2 separate regions of the Homo sapiens genome follow, and region 1 is linked to region 2. The links are contacts of gene promoters, found by promoter capture Hi-C in blood cells and fetal thymus (Javierre and others, 2016). All regions are on one chromosome and are shown on one strand. Each heading gives the region's core, a stretch centred on a gene start or on the middle of the fragment in contact. The rest is flanking DNA. Distances are from core to core; before and after follow the strand shown. Region 1 overlaps SPRING1 (SREBF pathway regulator in golgi 1). Region 2 holds the start of TESC (tescalcin).

The links. The method cuts DNA at HindIII sites, captures the fragments that hold promoters and counts their contacts. A CHiCAGO score of 5 or more calls a contact.
Region 1: a contact is called between a fragment that was not itself captured here and the fragment with the promoter of TESC in region 2, in 1 of 17 cell types (total CD8 T cells). The highest score is 5.7, in total CD8 T cells.

What each region holds. Positions count from the first base shown.
Region 1 is chr12:116,710,585-116,715,117 of GRCh38, forward strand. SPRING1 (SREBF pathway regulator in golgi 1) reads right to left here. Exons shown (of 5, transcript NM_024738.4): 5 at 1-4,533. Among named protein-coding and RNA genes, the nearest start is that of SPRING1, 25 kb to the right of the region's middle. The HindIII fragment of the contact is 584 bases long and covers 1,380-1,963 here.
Region 2 is chr12:117,096,333-117,100,665 of GRCh38, forward strand. TESC (tescalcin) reads right to left here and starts at 3,084. Exons shown (of 8, transcript NM_017899.4): 1 at 2,893-3,084. The coding sequence starts at 2,950. TESC-AS1 (TESC antisense RNA 1) reads left to right here and starts at 3,135. Exons shown (of 3, transcript NR_120464.1): 1 at 3,135-3,312; 2 at 4,121-4,308. RefSeq lists silencers at 2,480-2,579, 2,650-2,759, 2,820-3,339, 3,078-3,216, 4,083-4,300. The HindIII fragment of the contact is 9,670 bases long and covers 1-4,333 here.

The DNA.
Region 1 (4,533 bases), core at 422-2,921, 390 kb before region 2:
GCAGGGCAGCAGTACATGGGAAGTTGGTCCCAGCAGAGAAGGATATGGTGTCTCTTTAAAACTGGAGGAGGAAGAGGCAGAAAATGGTGAGCCCCAGTTGAAATCTGCAAGAGAGAAGGAGGAAGCCCTGGTTTGGAGAAAAACGGGCTCCAGATGGCTGGGCTACATTTGTCCTGTGAAAATCAAAAGCCTGGGACCCAGCCGCTGGGATACGAGGGCTCTGGTCTTGCTTTAACAGCCAGGGGGACTTTTGGCTTGTTACAAAAATTGGAATTTGGATCTGCAAGATACGCTAGCCATCACCCTTAATTGACAAATGAGGAAACCAAAGCCGGAGAGGGTAATTTACTCAAGGTCATTAAGGTCAGTGCTCTTGTCAATAAAATTAGGATATTGCTCACATACTTCATACTGCTTTTGTTACACACACACACACACACACACGCACACACAGAGCCAATGTATGGAAACATCCCTGAGAATATATAATGTCATCACATTTACTATTCAAATTAGCATCAACTGGTCAAATATTTATTCAGGTAGTAACTTACTCAACATTTCTATCTTGACATCCCCCAGTACAACTTAATACAATGCCCCAATCCCCACAGGACAGGACAACACTCTCTCTCGCTCTCTCTCTTCCTTAAGAATAGTGAGATGTGGCCAGGCGCGGTGGCTCACTCCTGTAATCCCAGCACTTTGGGAGGCCGAGGTGGGCGGATCACGAGGTCAGGAGATCGAGACCATCCTGGCTACTAACACGGTGAAACCCCGTCTCTACTAAAAATACAAAAATTAGCTGGGCACGGTGGCGGGCGCCTGTAGTCCCAGCTACTCGGGAGGCTGAGGCAGGAGAATGGCGTGAACCCAGGAGGCAGAGCTTGCAGCGAGCCCAGATCGTGCCACTGCACTCCAGCCTGGGCGATGGAACGAGAATCCGTTTCAAAAAAAAAAGAATAGTGAGATGTGACCAACATAGCCTGGAATCTTAAATTACTGATAATGGTGATTTCTCATTTAGACAACACTTTTTTCCCCTCCTCAGACAGGGTCTCACTCTGTGGCCCAGGTTGGAGCACACTGGCGCAATGACGGCTCACTGCAGCCTTGACCTCCTGGACTCAAGCCATCCTCCCGCCTCAGCCTCCTGAGTAGCTGGGACTACAGGTGTGCACTACCATGCCTGGCTCCTTTTTTTTATTTTTTGTAGAGACAGGGTCTCCCTATGTTGCTCAGGCTGGTCTCGAATTCTGGGCTCAAGCAATCCTCTCACCTTGGCCTCCCAAAGTGCTGGGATTACAGGTGTGAGCCACCACACCCGGCTGCCAACACCACTTTCGATTTTGGGATAATCTGGGTGCACAGTGATCAGAAGCTTACCTACCCCACGTTGCATAAAAAAAAGTATGAATTTAAAAATTCCAAGAGTAAACTACCCTATGAAAACCTCTGGCAGTGCTGATGAAAACACATTTCTGGTAGTGATATGTCTTGGTCCCTCTGGTCTCACAGAATGTGTAGTCCTGAGAAAAAATAAACCTGGACTCTTGGTAAAATATTTGAATAATTAACTGCTTTGCTCATTGGTTGTAACTGGCAAGTCATTCTCTTTACTACATTAAAGTCTGCACTTTCATTTTACAGACAGTCCTACAGTTCAACTCCAACATCAGGGACTGAGTCGTACACAGGAAGATCACTGAGTAGGTTCTGTGGAGACGCAGTCGGCCCATATGCACGTCACCACTCGGCTCCCAGCTCAGGTGCAGACCAACGGCGACCACTTGCTCCACTTTGCTCTGTGACAGCAGACGAGGTAAGGCATGTTGCAGATACATGCTGAATATAGGGATGCCTGTACACAAAACTGCACTCATGCTGTGATAACACGCAAAAGGTCACACACTGGAAGAGCCTTGCCCAACGAACGATAGACTAACAGGCCAGAGGCGGGGAAAGCTTCTCGGAGTCCCACTATCTTCTTTGTTTTTATTGCTCCTACTTACTTATGTGATACCTTTTTAGTAGAATGACTAGTTTTCTAAACAGAACCTGTAATGACAGGCTCACATTTCTTCCTCAACTCCCACCTCCAAAGCCACTCCATTCAAAGAACTGCTGGTGAGGTGCTGGGGAGTCAATCCGTCGTAGAGGGGAAGCGTTCTACCCCTCCAGATCCTTCTGCAGACAGGAGGGTGTCTGCATTCGGCGGAGTCCAAGAGTGCGGTGAGGACACAGTGGCAAAGGAATAATGCCATTCCTTGAGGCAGCGCTGGGCTAGTAGAGACCTGTGAGGAAGTAATGTGTCCTGTGGGGATTTCAGGGTAATTTAATCAGCAGCACTTCAGCAGGGTAGAAAGCAAGGGCGGGGAAAAATAATGAAGTCAGCACTCAGCTACCAGGAGCTCCTCTGTTCAATCTAACGGGGAGATATGACCCCAGAGCAGGGCTTCCCTCCCTCCACCCGGCTCCCACTTCCAGCCAGGTAATTCTGTGTCGTGGGGGCTGTTGGGCACCATCCCTGGCCTCCCTCCACGAGTGCCCACAGTACTGCCCTCCTCCCCACCTGTGACAAAAATGTCTCCAGACATTGCCAAATGTTCCCTGGGGGGCAAAATTGCCCCTGTTGAGCACCACTGCCCTAGATGAACTGGAAAAGTTGGTTTGTGAATATGTGAGCTTAGTTGTTTCTAACACAGGGCTGAAAAACAAGAGAAGGGGACAAAGGCTGCTTTCATATAAAAATGTACTGTAGTAATCAGTAAGAAAAAGAAACAACATTGGCTAAGTCACGAATAGGCATTTCACCATATGTACATGATAAATGGCCAATCAAAATAAGGAATGGGGCTCATTCTGCTGGAAATTAAATACATTCAAACAAGAACAGAGATCCATTAGCAAAATGTTTAAAAATAATATCACAGGGTTACCAGGGGTATGACAAAAATGGACACTTCCATACACACTAGGTGAATATATTGGTGAAAATAGTTCAGATAAACATACAACCATGTATGTAAAAGTATTTATCATCAATGCATTATTTGTAGTAGCAAAAACAACAAGCAGCCTTGGAAACCAGTTAATGTCCTCAGCAGGGAATTAATAATATTATTGTATATTCATGAAATTGACACCATGTGGCCACACAAATGCATTACACAGGCCTCTATGTAACATAGGATATTCATTAGAGAATTGTTTTTCAAGAGGACAAAGTACTTTCATTTTTGCCTAGAAAATGGGGGAAGACAAAAATGCGCTTCTCTCTAGGTTGTGTGATTTTAGGTTATCCTAAGTTTCATCCTTACGTGCTCCTGAATTATCTGAAATATCGTATCTTTAAAAACAGTAACAACAATAGTAACAAGAGCTCTGTAATTCCTACCCTTCCAACCTCAGGAGCCCACCCACCCCTATCCGAGCCGACCCCTGACTGCCCCTGCCATTGCTCCCTGCTGAGTTGCAGACATTGACTTCTTGCCAAGCCTCAGGCCTTGCTCACATCGACACCTCACAGTGACCCTGAGAGGCAGATGCTGTGACCCCATTTCACAGATGAAGGGCCTGAGCCACAGAGGAGGAAGACTGCCTCAGCCACGCCGCTAGTAAGTGGTAGTTCCCAACTCTAGAGTCCCAAAAGAATTCTGTCCTACTTATGAAAAGTATATCCAATAAGCAGTACCTCCCTGTGTTTACAACTTATCTGCTGATCCCAAGGATGGGAAAAGCTGCACTCAGAAACTTGCAAATTGTGCAACTGTTCCCCACGATTCCCTTGGGGCCAGTGCCGACTGAGGCATCTCCAGGAGGCCCCAGTTGGGCTTGGGGACATGCTGAGAGGTGACAGCACTGCTCTCAAGTCATATCCTCTGCTTCTGCAAAAGCTGTGGAGCTCACCCATCAATAGCAGCTCCATGCCGGGCGCAGTGGCTCACGCCTGTAATCCCAGCACTTTCGGAGGCTCAGGCGGGCAGATCATCTGAGGTCAGGAGTCCGTGACCAGCCTGGCCAACATGGTGAAACCCCGTCTCTACTAAAAGTACAAAAACTTAGCTGGGTGTGGTGGTGTACGCCTGTGATCCCAGCTACTCAGGAGGCTGAGGCAGGAGAATTGCTTGAACCCAGGAGGGGGAGGTTGCAGTGAGCTGAGATCACGCCATTGCACTCCAGCCTGAGCAACAGAGCAAGACTCCATCGCAAAAAAAAAAAAAAAAAAAAAAGGCTCTAGCATTGCCAGATCCCAGGCCCTGTGGAAGGTATTTCCCTCCCTCTTTTGTCCTTGCTTGTCTCAGAGCCCTTTTCACAGTCTCTTGTGTGCTTCTTTCCCTGTTAGGACCAATCTTTACAACTCCAGCAAGCGCAGCAAATAAGATGCAGAACTGGGGGAGATGCAACGTATGACTCAATTCCCTTGAGCCGAAAACACTCACTTATTAACAATATTTTTTTCTTTTTTTTGAGACAGAGTCTCACAAAAACAGGCACACGCCCCCACACCCGGCTAATTTTTGTATTTTTAGT
Region 2 (4,333 bases), core at 1,834-4,333:
TGGCCTTGGAGGAAGGGCCCTGCCTGACCCACTGGGTCTCTGGGAGCTGACGTTCCCATGCCAAGCCGATCGTCTCGCACGTAACCTTATCAAATCCACACAATGACTTCAGGATCCAGGTGGGGGTACTGAGGCTCAGAGAAGTAAGATGACTTGCCCAAGGTCATGTAGCTCAGAGAGGTGGGACCAAGACTCAACTCTCAGCTATGGCTCGGAGCGACCAGGACATACAAGAGTGTTTAAAGCATGGTCAATAACAAACCATGTACATGTGTTTGGTCTAACTACTTCATGTATATTAACTCAATCCTTCCCAACAACTTCAAGGGAGGTACTATGACTATGCCCATTTTATAGTAGATAAAACTGAGGCTCAGAGAGCATAAGTGACTTGCCCAAGGTACCTGGCAAGGCCCCTGAAGCCAGGCTCCTGCCACAGCCTGAGCCCTGACGACAGCTGTGTCCTCATCTCATGCATTCTTATTTACTGTTGCTGGCTTGTCCCTGCCACAGGGCCTCTGCATTCGACGTCCCCTCGGCCCGAGATGCCCTTTCCACTGATTTGCACACCCCTGGCTCATTCTTACTTGGATTTCTGTTCCATTATCACCTCCTCAGGGAGGACCTCCGGATCCACCCTAAAGCTCCATTCTCATGCCACCCTGCTATGCCTCGTTCACAGTTTAACACCTGTCGGGCGTTTTGTTTACTGTGTGTCCCCCTCCAGGAACAGCAGCCTCTCCGAGTCATCTCTAAATCCCCAGCCCCTGGTCTATAAATATTTGCTAAGTGGGCAAAAGTGACCGAATTACGCAGTCCCTTTCGGAGGACTGGGGGCAACTTTCCACCTACCTAAAGTTCCACCTGCCTACTCTAGTCTAACCTCAGAACCTCCTCTCCGACCCTCTCCATCTCCCTTGGGTTATGAAGTCTGAGCTCTGGGCAGCAAGAAGGGAAGCCGCTGCAGCTACATCTAGGAAGGTTACAGAGCAGGAACACAGCATCTGTCATCCCAGTGGGAGGCTGGACCCAGGAAACTGACAAGACTCCCAGCATGCTCTGCAGCCCCTCCTCCCTGTCAAACCCACAACCAGGTGGAATTCCCGAGTGCCCCGTGGGCTGCCGGAGAGCCCACCCTTCCAACGGGGATCCCAGCCACAGAGAATGCCCATCGACACCCATCCAGATTCAAAGCAGTGGGAGGCGAGGAGAGGGCACATGAGAAATAATAAAAGCAGAGGAGACCCAAGCAAGTAAGAGCTAGAGGAATCCCTCCTTTCTCTCTCATATTAGTCTTCGGATTGAAGTGCATAAAACTTTTTGAGTAAGTAAAATATCCAACATAGTTCAAAATGAACATATAAAAACGTTTACGGAGAAAAAGCTCACTCTCCCTTCATCCCTTCCACTCCCCCCGCAACCCCCACCAAGCATCCATTCGTACTTTCTGGTGGATTCTTCCAGTCTGCAAATATAGCAATTACAAATGTATACTCTTATTTTCCCCTCTTTTTACATTTTCTATTTCTTTTTACTTTGCGGCTCCAGCTCAAAGGATCCTTTTTTAAAAAACAGAAAAAAGGGTACCATATTATATATGCTGAGCCACACCTTTTACTTCTTTAGTTGGATATTTCTATATCTCTACACACACAGAGATACAGATATAGACGTATAAGTGCGTGCATACACACACCAGTTATTAATGGTTTTCTGCAATTTTCATCCAGTTCTCCTGGAAAGGGGTATTTAGATTGGGGGTCAAGAGGGGTTGCTTTTCAGCTGACACACAAACAGCTGGGCCACCCTCTCTTGGTGATCAATACTGGACGCTGGTTCTCTGCACTTGAAGCAGGTGCCAGGAGCTAGCTCTTTCCCAAAATATCTGCAGCTCCCATTTCCTGAGCGTCTACCAGGTACTAGGAGAACTCTTACAACAGAGAAGGAAAGCTGAGAATCAGAGAGGTAAAGTGACTAGCCCAAGGTCACACAGCCAGGAAGTGCAGCTGGCAGGGTTCACAGCCGGTCTGTCGCTCGCCAAAGCCGGTTTGCCCACACACCTGGCCCCCGCGGTCTCCAGTCCACACCCTGGTCCACAGCCAGAGGCAGAACTGGCCATGCCGAGTTCAGGACCCAGGGCCAAGTCCCCAGCCCGGCTGAACTCGGGCAGAGAAGCGCTTTCTCCGCCATTTCCCTGCGGGCAGCTCGGCCAGGCCTCCCAGGGCTCCCCGCCTCCGGGCCGATGCGGGGCGCGCAGCCTTTGCTGGTCCCGGGAGACTCAGCGAACTCAGGGGAGGACGCTGGGCTCCGGGCAAAGTGCTCTGCGGCCGCTGCCTCGCTAAGTCTCCCAGCCACCCGCGGGGATGAGGCTGCCTGAACCCATTTTACAGATGCGAGGACGAAAGCAGGCGCCGGGCGCCGGCTCTCCCGACTAAGGTCACCCGGCCGGGGAGCGTCGGAGACCTGTTCCCACCCAGGTCCGCCGACTTCAAAACTTTCCGCTCTCGCGCTCACGAATGCAAACGACTCTCAGGTGTGGGGCGCGCGCGCCAGCGGGGGTGCCTGAGGGACTTGCCCGCCCGGCCTGAGGCACCTGCCCTGCGCTTGGGAAGCCTGGGCCCCGCTCCCTCCCCGGTCCGCAGTCCCCCGGCCAGGGAGTTCCCGGGCCAGTCCGAAGCTGAGCGGCTGCGGCACTGAGCATCGCCGCGGAGCTCCTCGCCGCAGCCCGCGAGGTGGCCAGCGGGGACCCATTTGAAAGAGGAGGAGACTGAGGCGCAGAGAGGGCCCGCCACTGGCCCAAGGTCACACAGCGCGGCGGCGGGCCGGGGTCCCCAACAGTGGCCGTTCGGAGGTCCCGCCCCGGTCCCCGCGCCGCCCCCCGCGGGTACTCACAGCCGGTCTTGCCCTCGAGCTCCCGCACCTCCTCAGACGCGGAGTGGGCAGCGCCCATGGTGCCCGCGGCGGGGGCCCCGGGGCGCGCGTCCCTCTCAGGCCCCGCACTGGCTTCGGCTGCGCAGCGGCGGGACTGGCCTCGGGTCCGGCCTCGGGTCGGGACGCCGGCGAAGGCTCGGAGCCGCGGGTTCCGCGTGGGGCCGGAGCGGGGCCTCATATAACGGCGGAGGGCGGCGCGCCGCGGTCCTAGCGCACGCCGGTTTCGCGCACTGCGCGGCTAGGGGAGCGCCCCGCCCCGCCCCGGCCCGGAAACCGCCGGGAAGGGGACCCCGGAGCCCACCGCTCTGGAGTCCCCGTTCGTGCAGCAGTGCTCACGTACCTCGTCCCTTCCGCACACCTGCTGGATCTGGAAGGAAGCAGGTGTGAGCAAATTTGGGGGCGTGGGTAGGAGGGGTGGGACCCCTGGGAGGTGCTATGCCCACTCCCAACCCATCCCACCTTACATCCTCCAGATCTTAGGAGGGAAACTCCACTGAGATAGTCAAGGAAGTCAGCGAGCATGAAATAGCTCTATGGAGAACAACAGTAATAATAATCCTATTTGAAAATGCACCATGCGCTTTGGTTTTTTCCAGGAAAGCCCCAGCACCTTCTGAGGTGAACACACCCACGTGGCGGCCCGTGTGGGCCCTGCACAGCCCGGTGGCTGAGAGGCACCTCAAACTGCAGGAGCGGGCTGGGCGCATGGCTCACGCCTGTAATCCCAGCACTTTGGGAGGCCAAGGCGGGCGGATCACTTGAGCTCATGAGTTCGAGACCAGCCTGGCCAACATGGTGAAACCCCGTCTCTACTAAAAACACAAAAATTAGCCAGGCGCGGTGGCACATGCCTGTAATCCCAGCTACTCCGGAGGCTGAGGCAGGAGAATCACTTGCACCTGGGAGGCAGAGGTTGCAGTGAGCTGAGATCTTGCCACTGCACTCCAGCCTGGGCGACAGAGCAAGACTCTGTCTCAAAAAACAAACAAACAAAAAAACAACTGCAGAAGTGGGCCCAGGAGGCTGCATTTGGGACAAACTGCTGGAGAGAAGGCAATGCCGGTGGTCCCCATGCCCATTAGGGAAGTTCTGGGTTAAGATGGCTTGAGGGGTTGGCTCTCCATCCAGTTGGGGTGACTGGGGCCGATGCTGTTGCCTGTGTAATGTGATTCCTCCTCCTTAAAATAAGGATAAGTTAATGAGATGTCCACCAGAGGGCCTGGCGTGGACACAGCACATGGCCACAGAGGCTGGTGGGCGCTATGGAATCTTGTCCCCTGGAGAGGCACACAGCCAGGGCAGAACATCAAGGTCAAGGCTCTCCTGAAGGCTCTGCAGTGCTTAGTGACACCACCATCAATGACCGTCAGGTATCAGGTCTGTTCTGAACGTTAGTCTCGAT